Linked DNA regions of Homo sapiens: regions 2, 3 and 4 are each linked to region 1. Evidence: promoter capture Hi-C in 16 types of primary human blood cells and fetal thymus (Javierre and others, 2016). All regions are on one chromosome and are shown on one strand. The core of a region is centred on a gene start or on the middle of the fragment in contact, and the rest is flanking DNA. Distances in the headings are between cores, read along the strand shown. Region 1 holds the start of LRRC8B (leucine rich repeat containing 8 VRAC subunit B). Region 2 holds the start of LOC101927975 (a long non-coding RNA gene). Region 3 overlaps LRRC8D (leucine rich repeat containing 8 VRAC subunit D). Region 4 overlaps LOC105378847 (a long non-coding RNA gene).

Evidence for each region. The method cuts DNA at HindIII sites, captures the fragments that hold promoters and counts their contacts. A CHiCAGO score of 5 or more calls a contact.
Region 2: a contact is called between a fragment that was not itself captured here and the fragment with the promoter of LRRC8B in region 1, in 3 of 17 cell types (non-activated CD4 T cells, activated CD4 T cells and total CD4 T cells). The highest score is 7.1, in non-activated CD4 T cells.
Region 3: a fragment that was not itself captured here is called in contact with the fragment with the promoter of LRRC8B in region 1 in 1 of 17 cell types (non-activated CD4 T cells); the score reaches 5.0 in non-activated CD4 T cells.
Region 4: a fragment that was not itself captured here is called in contact with the fragment with the promoter of LRRC8B in region 1 in 1 of 17 cell types (total CD4 T cells); the score reaches 5.9 in total CD4 T cells.

What each region holds. Positions count from the first base shown.
Region 1 is chr1:89,523,255-89,526,209 of GRCh38, reverse strand. It overlaps LRRC8B (leucine rich repeat containing 8 VRAC subunit B), which reads right to left and starts at 1,381. Exons shown (of 6, transcript NM_001369817.2): 1 at 1,188-1,381. RefSeq lists an enhancer at 1-356 and a silencer at 1,058-1,517. The HindIII fragment of the contact is 21,216 bases long and covers 1-2,955 here.
Region 2 is chr1:89,786,196-89,789,049 of GRCh38, reverse strand. It overlaps LOC107985744 (a long non-coding RNA gene), which reads right to left. Exons shown (of 3, transcript XR_001738140.2): 2 at 2,209-2,350; 3 at 752-1,479. LOC101927975 (a long non-coding RNA gene) reads right to left here and starts at 680. Exons shown (of 2, transcript XR_001738141.2): 1 at 68-680. The HindIII fragment of the contact is 5,480 bases long and covers 1-2,854 here.
Region 3 is chr1:89,873,045-89,875,744 of GRCh38, reverse strand. The region is part of intron 2 of LRRC8D (leucine rich repeat containing 8 VRAC subunit D); the gene reads right to left. Among named protein-coding and RNA genes, the nearest start is that of LRRC8D-DT, 53 kb to the right of the region's middle. The HindIII fragment of the contact is 3,292 bases long and covers 1-2,700 here.
Region 4 is chr1:89,965,840-89,968,539 of GRCh38, reverse strand. It overlaps LOC105378847 (a long non-coding RNA gene), which reads right to left. Exons shown (of 3, transcript XR_001738142.2): 1 at 1,243-2,700. Among named protein-coding and RNA genes, the nearest start is that of ZNF326, 28 kb to the left of the region's middle. The HindIII fragment of the contact is 2,957 bases long and covers 1-2,700 here.

The sequences.
Region 1 (2,955 bases), core at 132-2,631:
AAAGAGCATTTGGGGTTCTCAGGAGGTGTAGCCTGTACACATAGAGGGTACTGGAATTGTTTAAAAAATTACACTGCAGTTTGACTTCTTTTCCATCCTCACTCCTACACCTAGGTTTAGGGGACAGAACCATCTGATAAAGATAAATCTGTTTTAAGATTTCTGGGGTGTTCTGCAAAGACTACTATATCATTTGCAAATAGGTTGTCTTTTAATAAAAATCATGCTACGTAATGTCTTCTTAATATACGCTGAACAAATTGCCTGTTTTAATTTGGCTATATATCTACAATTTAAAATGTTCATACTGTTATCTTTTACCAGTGGAGTGTTTTTTTGTTTGTTTGTTTGAAGTCTTTAGGCGAAGTGAATTTATTCAAGGAAGTTCACATGTCGGTTTTGTTCTTTTAGAGGGGTGTCTTTTTGACCACAAAGAAAAAAAAAGTTTTCCACAAATGTCATCTAACTAAAGGCAATCTATGGACTTTAGGAAGTCAGTTGAGCACACAGATTAATGAGCCAATACTGAGCCTCCTCCCTTCTGACCTCTCAGCACCTGCTCAACTAAGCTCAGGGGAAACTCTTGAGTCTTCTTCTTAAATTGGTAACGCTTGCCCTTTCTTTCTCAAACAAATCAACGCCCAACACCACCACCAAATTATAGGCAACCAACGCGTATCCAACAGCATAAAATAGTTCCCAAGAGCATAAAATAGTTCCCAACAGCGCCAGCGCAGGGGGCAAAACAGAGCGACCAAATGGGGGCACCCTCAGGGGAGTTGCGCTCATCTGGAGCGAGACGCCAGCCTGGGAAAGCGGAACCCCTTTCCCGCCCCGCCCCGAGGACTCACGCTCAGGTGCAACGCCGAGACTCCCGGGGGAAAGAGAGGTGACCGTCTCGGCGCGACCGCCCACACCTCTTGCTCCAAATGACCCCAGCACACAGGAGAGGTCCTCTCAGCGTGGGACTCCGTCTCTCCCGAAGGCAGGGAGCACAACGAAGCGGCCACTCGTCTCTGCAGCCGCGCTACCGGCCCGCAGCCTGGCTCGCAGGTGAGGCGTGAACAGGTAACCGCACCTGTTCGGCCAGCCCCACCTGCTGCGTCCCCGTATCCGGTCCTCCTCCTCCACCACCTCGGTCGGCGCGGCTCGCCCTCCTGGAACCGGGGTGTCACGCTCCGACCTACCTGCGCGACTCCAGCCCCGGACGCCCGCGCTCCCCGCGGCGTGCTCCTGGGCCGCTCCGGGCGGGCAGGCTGCGGCCCCGCGCCCGCACTTTCCCGGCTGCCGGAGGCTGCGGGCTCAGCGGGAAGCCCCGGCGCTGTCCGGCTCGCCGCCTCCGACCGGCTCCATTGTGACGCGACGCGTTCCGCTGGCCAATGGGCGCTCGGCGGCGCGAACCGCTGACTAAGTTCGCGGGTGGAGGAGGAGGGGACGGGGCGGAGGCAGGGCGCGGAGGCGGCTACCACGGTGGTGGCGGTAGCAGTGGCGGAGGAGGAGGAGGAGGAGGAAGAGGAGGAAGAGGCTGCAGTCGCTTCGGTAGCTGCTCCTGCTGTGAATTTTTCAGCTGCCTGGGCCTGAGTGTTTGCCCAGCTCTGGGGCTGCGGGAGCCAGTGACTCACCTATCACTGCTGGAAACAAAGCGCAGCTGCCATCTCCCCGAGCGCGCCATGTGGCCATCGCTGCCCCCTCGCCCAGCCTGGGGTCCGCAGGAGGTAGCGCACAGCCATACGCCCCGCGGAGCAGCTGGAAAGAGCGGGGACTGCTTTCCAGAAGCGGGAGGGAAATGGGCTTCGGCGTGTCCCCCAGGCGCGCCACACCGGTGACTTCGGCACTACACCGCGTGTGTCGGGCCCCAGCCTTCTCACGTGTGCGTCCCTGAGTAACTTGGCATTTATATAACGCGTGTTGGGCCCTGAGGGAAAGGTCGGGTGCAGCACGCGGGAACCTCCTCTTCGAAAAGGAAGTCCCCTTACTTTTCTTTACCCTGCTTAGAAAGATTGCAGGGCCCAGCCTCTGTGAGGGAGGGTTTACAGTTGTACCAACTAAGCGGCTTAAGTTCGATTCTGGCCTTCCAATACCATTGGCTTCTCTCAAATGTCGTTATCCTCAGGATAGGGAGGGGACCACATGGCCGAGGGGCGGTCCCTATACTCATAACCTGCCTTTCACTGCGATTCAACTGCAGAGACACCTCAACTACTGCCCGCTTGCTTCTCTCCCAAGTGGCACTGCATTTGAAGGCCAACAATATTCCTTACGAAACAGAATTAATCCAAACCCACAAATTCTAGGGACATAAATATTTTTATCATCCTCATCCATTTCCCCACTCTCACCCTTACCCCAGTTTTAACTCAGTCTCTGCCCTGGCTATTATCTTGAGCACACTGATTCAATTAGGCAAGATTTATGTCTTTTAGTTGCTATGGTGGTCACATCTCCATTTAAAAAAAGAAAGAAAAAACAAGTTTGTACCGGCATCTCCCAAAGGAATAAAATGAAGACGAACAGACTCAGCATTTGGGGCATCTGAGCAGTTTGTGTAAATGGGAGTATAGCAAATGCCCTATCGAGTTAATATGAGACAAGAGTTGTGTCTCAGACTGTTCAGATGAGGACTACAATTTGAGTCACCCTGAAAGGGAAAAAGAAGGCTGTCTTTGTGTCACTGATCTGTTCTTTTCTTGTTCACTCAGTCCATTCTGGAACTGCAGATATCTTTTTTCTGAGTCTTGAAGGAAAAGCTGAAAGAACATTTCTTCACTTGGTCATTCGATAAATTTTTATTGAGTTTATATGTGTGAGACACTGGGTATGCACAGATCTACAAGTCTAATTTAAATTTAGGTTTGATCCTTACAGGAGTATCTGAAATTCTCTCAGGGACTTTCTGATTAATTATTTTTGGTAGAAGAAAATTCTAAAAGACTCTGTCACTACTTTCACAGCCAG
Region 2 (2,854 bases), core at 288-2,787, 260 kb before region 1:
TAATGCCCCAGGGAGGCCCAACAACTTTGCAGCTCAGACACGTTTTCCCTCAGCTCTATCTTCTCACCTCGGGTTTGAAAATGGAGGGATTTGTAAGGGAGGATCTACGTTCATGGCAAAACTTCATTCTGCACTCCTGTGTCCCCTTCAGCCAAGGTCAAATGGTCCAGTTGGCCTCTCAATTATAGGTCCTGATCGTTAACAAAATGAACATTTATTCAGACATACCATGAATAATGTTAAGTACCCTACATAATCTATTTAATCTTCAAAACACACCTAAGGAGAGGCTCTGTTTATTTTTATCCTATTTTTACATATGAGAAAATTGACCCTTAGACAGATTCAGTGATTTGCCCAGGGAACACAGTTAATAAGTAGGAAGCTAGTGGCTGAATTTGGCAGCCTGACCTTAAAGCCTCAACTCTGACCCACCTGTCGCTAGGTTCCCTTATTGATGTCTCACCTGCGGTTATACCATGCATCCTAATTGACCTCAACAGTCCTGGCTTCCACTATTCTGTCCCTTTTGTCCATGAAGATGCTCTAACTTGTCAAATTCTGGGTCTCAATTTCTGGTAATGTTTTAACCATAGGTGACAATCATGTGTTCATTTAACAGACACTTACATAGTGCTTACTATTCTAGCTGTTCTATTGAAGTTAATTTATTAAATTAATATTAGGGTTAATCTAATTTAATCCTTATAACAACTGCATAAAGTACAGACAACCCTCCATATCTGTGGGTTCTGCATCTGTAAATTCAACTAACCTCAGATCAAAAATATTTGGGGGAAAAAAATTGCACAAAGGTCCATAGAGCACAACTTGAATTTACCATGCACTGAGTACTACATTGAATCTACATGAATAAAATGATGTGCAAGCATTGGATCAAGTATTGTAAGTAATCTAGAGATGCTTTAAAGAATATGAGAGGATATGAGTAGGTTATATGCAAATACTATGCCATTTTATATAAGGGACTTGCACATTCACAGATTTTGGTATGAGGGGTGTCCTGGGACCAATCCCCAGGATGCCAAGGGTTGCCTATATGTATTAACACATTATTTCCATTGTACAGATGGGGAAATTGAAGAACAGAGAGGTTAAGTAACTTGGTCAAGTTGACGGGACTAATAAATAGTAAGTGGCTGAGTTGGGATTCAAACACAGGCTACTAAGTAGTAACCATGATGCCATGTTGCCTGTACGTATTTGTGGTATTAGTAAGTGGAACATTTACTGTATGCTCAGCACTCTATTATGGGGGATATAGACATGGACTTTTGCTGCCCACAAATTGCAATACAGTATTTTCTTTATCAGCAGTTTTCTTTCCATGGTTTCAGTTACCCATGATCAGCCATAGTCTGAAAATATTAAATTAAACATTTCAGAAATAATCCATAAGTTTTAAATTACATACCATTTTGAGCAGCATGAAGAAATTTCACATCGTCCGACTCTGTCCTGTGGGGATATGAATCACTCCTTTGTCCAGTGTATCCACACTGTATGTGCTACCTACCTGTGAGTTATTGACATTGTCTGCTCCTGACATCCAGCCATGGACACATCACAAGAAGAAGGGTGAGTATGGTATAATAGGATATTTTGAGAGAGAGAGACCTCATTTGCATAACCTTTCTTACAGTATATTGTTATAATTGTTCTATTTTGTTATTAGTTATAATTGTCAATCTCTTATTGTGCCTAATTTATAGATTAACCTTTATTATAGGTATGTATATATAGGAAAAAAACAGTATTTATAGGGCTTGATACTATCCTTGGTTTCGAGCATCCACTGGAGGTCTTGGAAAGTATCCCCTGAGGATAAGGCGGGAAGACTGTAAACAGTTGCTCAAAGGAGGGTAAAGTTCCAATGGACTGGAATAGACTGAAGGAGTGGTAGGCACCGCTGGTTGTTTATCTCATCTTCTACCATTTCCTCTTCCTTTCTAATAGCATGCCGGTTTTGTTTAGGAGAGCCATGTGCCCAGTAAGGGTGGCCACCCAATCAGGTTCTGGCCAGCAAGATGACAGAGGAAGTCCAGTGAGTGGGGCTTCCAGGAAAGCGATTATTTTCTTGGTACAAAGGCACAGACTCAGTTGGCATGCACCTTGGACCCTTTGCTCCTGCCCCTTCTCTTTGCCTGGGACCCAGACACAACACATAGAGTAGAGCAGCCATCTTACCACCATGAGGACTGAAGCCAGTCGCTGGGGTTGTCAGATAAGGATGTTAGAAGCAGCCTGGTCCTTGGTGATTTCCCTGAGCAGCTGTAAGAGTCCTGGGCTGTCTGCTTCTGGACTTCTTGGTGTGTGAGAAAACAAACCCCTATTTGGTTAAAATAATGTAGTTGAGCTTCTGTTACAAACAATTGAACAAAGTGTTACGTGTAAGCCTTCGTGGTGGAGAGAGTCTCTCTTTAGGGTTTAAAGGTGAGGAATATTCAGCTAGGCTGGGAGAAAGGAGAAGCTATTCCAGGTGTACAGTATGTCCTACCCAGTGGCAGGGAAGCAGAACCAGCACATGCATTCAGGGCAATGTCGAGAGCCAGCCACCCTGGGCAGAGTACAGTTAACTTAATTTTGTAATGCCTAAGGGAGAACAAGAAGGGTAAAGGAGCTGATGTATGAAACAGCATAGAAAGAAACAGCATAGAAAGGCCGGAGACTTGGTGAGAAGGTGAGAAACAAGCCTTGGGCCACATCACAGATTTTATTTTCATGTATTTATTTACTTTTTTTTTTTTTTTTTTTTTTTTTTGAGACAGAGTCTCGCTCTGTTGCCAGGTTGGAGTGCAGTGGCGCGATCTCAGCTCACTGCAATCTCTGCCTC
Region 3 (2,700 bases), core at 5-2,504, 350 kb before region 1:
AGTCCTCTATAAGTGTTTGTTAAATAAATAAAAATTTCATTTAAACATTTAATAAGCACCTTCTATGTGTTGGGTACAGTGTCAGATGACAACATATAGAAATAAAGAAGACCTTAAAAGAGGTGGAAGTTACACTGTTGTATATGAAAGGCTTTCTCTGACCATGTAACACCCCCTTCTCTCATTGCCCTATCTCTTTATCTTGCTTAATTTTGTTATTAGCACTTATTAAAGGATATCTAATAGATATCCATGAAACACATGCTTATCAGACTCATCTACTATATGGTCTTCATAAGGATAAGGATTTTGTTATATTCACAACTGTATAATCTAGCTTCTAAAACACTGCTTGGCATTCAGCAAATGATCAAAAACTATAAAATAAATGAATGAGTGAATGAAGAACATTTAATGGACACCTATTATGATATTTTGTAAAGACCAGATAGTTAAATGTTTCAGAGCTTCTAACTTTCAATCCCATGCATATTTTAAAATTTGAAATCTAGTAAACTTCTCCCATGTTAAAAAAAATCCAACAGCAATGCCTGTCAAAAAGGCATTTGTATTTTCAATCAATTCCAAAAGATTCTACCGGGCTACTTAACCTGTACAAAATAATATTGGTTTGTAGCTTTATACAGGTTTTTTTTATCCTCATATTATTCTTGAGAAGTAAGGATGGGATAGATATTCCCCCCACTAAATAATGAGACAACAGGTAAGAGAAGTTGCCTCGTCCAGATACAACCAGATCAGCAACACTGAATGATTCAAATTCCCATTATAGGAACATATTCCCACTGTATAGGAACTACTGCAATGACAATCATGGTAAAGTCTCAGTAGAACTAAGAATTAAATGAATTTATGAATAAACATTCTCACTCATCAATTCAGCCAGCCTCTTCTTCCACCAACTTCTTAACATTTTTGGATTACTGCTTAAGTCATTATTCTTACTTTTATCTATGAACAGCAATTATACTCCTTAAATGCCACCTTTTGGCTACGAGTCAATTCAACATCTACAATTCAGATTATTGCAATACTTCATCATTGCTAGATAATAATGACATCCTTTGTCAATACATACTGAGTGGAGAGGAAGGCAGAATCCATAGATAAATGGCAACATGTGGACCCTATCCTTACTAAGCATGGGTTTTTGTTCTTTTTTTAGGTGATAAAGTCACTGAAGGGTAATAGTAAACTTCACTACTCCTGACATAATGAATCCAAATATTATGCCCCACTTACCACACACACACACACACACACACACACACACACACACAAATAGTTTCTTACTTCTCAAGGAATAATAAAGGAAAACAGATTCACACTTCGAGGTCATAGAATCCAACTCCATCTCATTATAGATGAGAAAACTGAGTTCCAAAGAAGTTAGAGAACTAGTTCAAAGCTACACAGCTAGCTTCTGGCAGCACCACAGCTAAAACTCTAGTCCTCTGCCTCCGAATTTAGGGGTCTACAATTATGAGCTTGATAAGCCACATAAACTGGCAACTCTTCCTCCTAGTTTTTCCCTTTATGATGTTTTCAGCTTTGTGTAGGAGAAATTTATTCATTAAACAAAGTACCTACAAACCCTTTAATCGTTAAGTGCCTCACAAATATTTGAGTGAAGTGAACCAAATTTGGGTATGACTTACTGCCATAGGAAGCAGAATGCTTAACACTTAGACTATCCCATTTGTGATTTTTGGTTTCCATAGTGATAAATAACATTTACTGCTACATGTGGTCTGGCTTAGATCTATGAACAAGCATTTCCTGATGAATGGCAACTCCCACAAGATACAATTTCCCAAATACTTTAGGCAGCTGATGAGGAAAAAAAACACTGCCCATAGAAAAGATTAATGACCTACTAGGTCGTTCATTATCAAACGGCACTCTAAATTTGCTATGATATGGCTGATTCTTTGACTTTATAAATTTGTTTCAGGAATGTAAGGGAAAACATTTGGGCTTTGCCAACCAACTTAACAGACAGGATTATAAAATTTAGGTTTACGAGAAACATGCCATAAATTTGATTCAATAAAATATGATAGTTTTCAATCCTACATGACAAAGATATGTTTCATATTTTAACTCTTCAGTTGTTAGTTTTTGATGATAACACCCCTCTTCTAATGTGTCCATTGTTTATCTGGAACCTATCAATATAGTCAGTCCATCTGGACATAAACATGGAGCTGTATACAAAGAAGAGGCCACTGAAAGGAAGTCATGAGCTTCAACATCCACCTAGTCATTTGCTGCCTCCAGCTGGCTTTTGTGTTTGGTAGTTCTGTTTAAGAACTAAACTTATCAAAATGTTCTAGTATTAGGTCATTAAAAATACAAGGAGAACCTAAAAAGTGTATATATGCAATTATACATTTAGAAATATTTTTTCTCCCAGCATTCTCTTCCCAGAAGGCTGTAACACAGAAATTAATACAGAAGCCTTTGTTATTTTGCAACTTTGCATCGACAGCTTTGAGGGGTTGTTGAGTTACAGGGGAGGGGGTCAAATTTTTCAAAGAGGACAGGTTGAATTAGTATCTTGATGTTCCCTGGATCTCTATGATCTCTCCCCTGTACAATTACAGAAGCCTGTACACACTGTTTCTAAGAACACTTCACCAAAATTGCCTTTGGTGAGAACAAAACAACTGTTCACAG
Region 4 (2,700 bases), core at 127-2,626, 440 kb before region 1:
TTTTCTGAAGTGGTGATCATTTTTTGAAAAGTCCAAACAAAACACAGTACAATCTTCCCTTTGTTTAGCTGGTGATTGCATTCCTAAATGGTTCATATTTGTATATAAAATGGAATTAGACCTTAGGCTTGGAAATATAAACAGGTTTTCCATGTACAAGAACCTTTATCTGTTGGGACATTAGAAGATCCCATATGATGACAGAAAATTCTTTGTTGTATGGGCTGTCTCACTATGGCAGCATGTCTCTCCTCCATGGTCTCAGTTCATTAAATGCTAGTAGAGCCCGCTCAAGAATGTCCAAATGCCATAGTTTAGATCCATTTCTTTGAGTGCCATCATAGAGGTGAGGGAATTCCAAGTGCTAATGGAACTGAAAGCAGGGCCAGGCATGGATGCAGTGGCTCACACCTGTAATCCCAGCATTTCGGGAAGCTGAAGCAGGAGAATTATTTGATGCCAGGAGTTCGAGACCAGCCTGGGCAAAAAAGCAAGGCCCCATCTCTACAAAAAGTAAAAAATTAAAATAATTAGCTGGGACCTGTAGTCCTAGCTACTCTGGAAACTGAGGTGGGAGCATAGTTTAAGCCCAGAAATTCAAGGCTGCTGTGAACTGTGAACACATCACTGCACTCCAGCCTGGGCAACAGAGTGAGACCCTGTCTCCCACCCCCAACCAAAAAAAAAAGAATTGAGACACAGCAAATATTACTGTGGGAAGAGAAACTGTAAAGGGGAAGGAGTTTGGATTCAGGTGGATAGAGGCTTGAACTTCACCCAACCTTAGACAATTTTTTTTTTAGACAGAGTTTTGCTCTTGTTGCCCAGGCTGGAGTGCAATGGCACCATCTCGGCTCACCACAACCTCCGCCTTCCGAGTTCAAGCGATTCTCCTGCCTCAGCCTCCCAAGTAGCTGGGACTTTACAGGCATGCACCACCACACCCAGCTGATTTTATATTTTTAGTAGAGATGGGGTTTCTCCATGTTGGTTAGGCTGGTCTCAAACTCCCGACCTCAGGCGATCTGCCCGCCTCGACCTCCTAAACTGTTGGGATTACAGGTGTGAGCCACCACGCCCGGCCTCTGCCTTAGACAATTTATATAACCTGCCACGGCTTCAGTTTCTCAGTTTTTTCTTCTTTCAGTTTCCCCACTTTTAAAATAGATCTATAATACTTCTGTTATGAGTTTGTATAAAGACTAAACAAGATTGCAATGTATATAAAATGTTTAACATTACCTTTCAGGGGCCACATTCCAAGTATTTTTTTCCTTGCCATTAAGTGAGAGAATCGCAGTTATCTCAAAGTAAGGGAATATCATGAGGGTAAGCGTCCCACAGCTCAGTTCTTGGAGAAAATAGAAAAGAAGAGAGACAAGAGGAGCATATAAAAGTGACTAATTCAGGAGGAGGTGACATCTGAGTTATCAAGTAGGATAAAATTACCTTGGTTCATAATCAGTAATAGGAGGTCTCAGTACAGCATAGTGACTCTGCTTGGGTTTTATACTCGGAAAACCTGGCTTCCTGTCTTAGCTCTGCTGCTTGCCAATGAGCTGGGGCAAGTCACTTCGCTTCTCAGGTTCTTTATAGGTAAAATGAGTTCAGTAATACCTGCCTTTCCATTTTATTGTGGAATTGAACTGAGATGTAGGATGGAAGGCACCTGGCTCGTAGCCAGACTCTTACACGCAGTAGCTCTTCCTCATCAGTTCAGAGCTGTGTAGCAGCCAAAGGAAAACTTCCCTTTTGCCCCCTAAAGGTTTGCTGAAAATCAGCTGACAAAAGGCAGATTAATAGGAGGAAAGCATATAAATTTATTAAAGTGCATGGAGGAAAATCCCAGATATTATCCCCTCTTTCTCCGTGAATTGGGGTCTAGATGTTTTTATGCCTTTCTTCTTAGAAGAAAGGGAGATGGGGAAGTATGAGTGATGTAAGGGGGTTAGTAAATGATTTTTAGGGGAATTTAATGGGCTCCAAGAACATATAATGGCCTGAGACAAAGCCTGTTGGGCTCACAAAGCAGACAATGTTTTGGGACAAAAGGCTGTCCAGGTTTGTTGACAGACTTGTCCTTTTTTTTTTTTTTTTTTTTTTTTTTTTTTTGAGACTGGGTCTCACTCTGTCGCCCAGGCTGGAGAGTGCAGTGGCGTGATCTCGGCTCACTGCAACCTCCACCTCACGGGTTCAAGCAATTCTCTGCCACAGCCTCCTGAGTAGCCCTGAGTAGCCAGGATTACAAGCGCCCACCACCACGCCCGGCTAACTTTTTTGCATTTTTATTTTAGTAGAGACAGGGTTTCACCATCTTGGCCAGGCTGGTCTTGAACTCCTGACCTCATGATCCACCTGCCTCGGCCTCCCAAAGTGCTGGAATTACAGGCGTGAGCCACCGCGCCTGGCCAACAGATTTGTCTTTCTTCCTGTGATATGAGTTTAGTTAATTAAAACTCAGGGAAGGGATGAGAGGGATTTGTTTTTTCCCTTGGCAGATCTGGACTGTAGGCAGATACGGGAACTTTAGATAACAATTTCATCCTGTGCTTTGGGAGAGATGGAGGATTAAGAGACGGGGTGCAGGGAGGTCAGAGAGAATTTTGAGGCTGCTTCCTCCATTCAGCATGTCAAAGCACCATATTTTGGAGTAGCCTTTTCTGAGCCCAACAGCTGCTAATCCAGCATCTGAAGAAACAG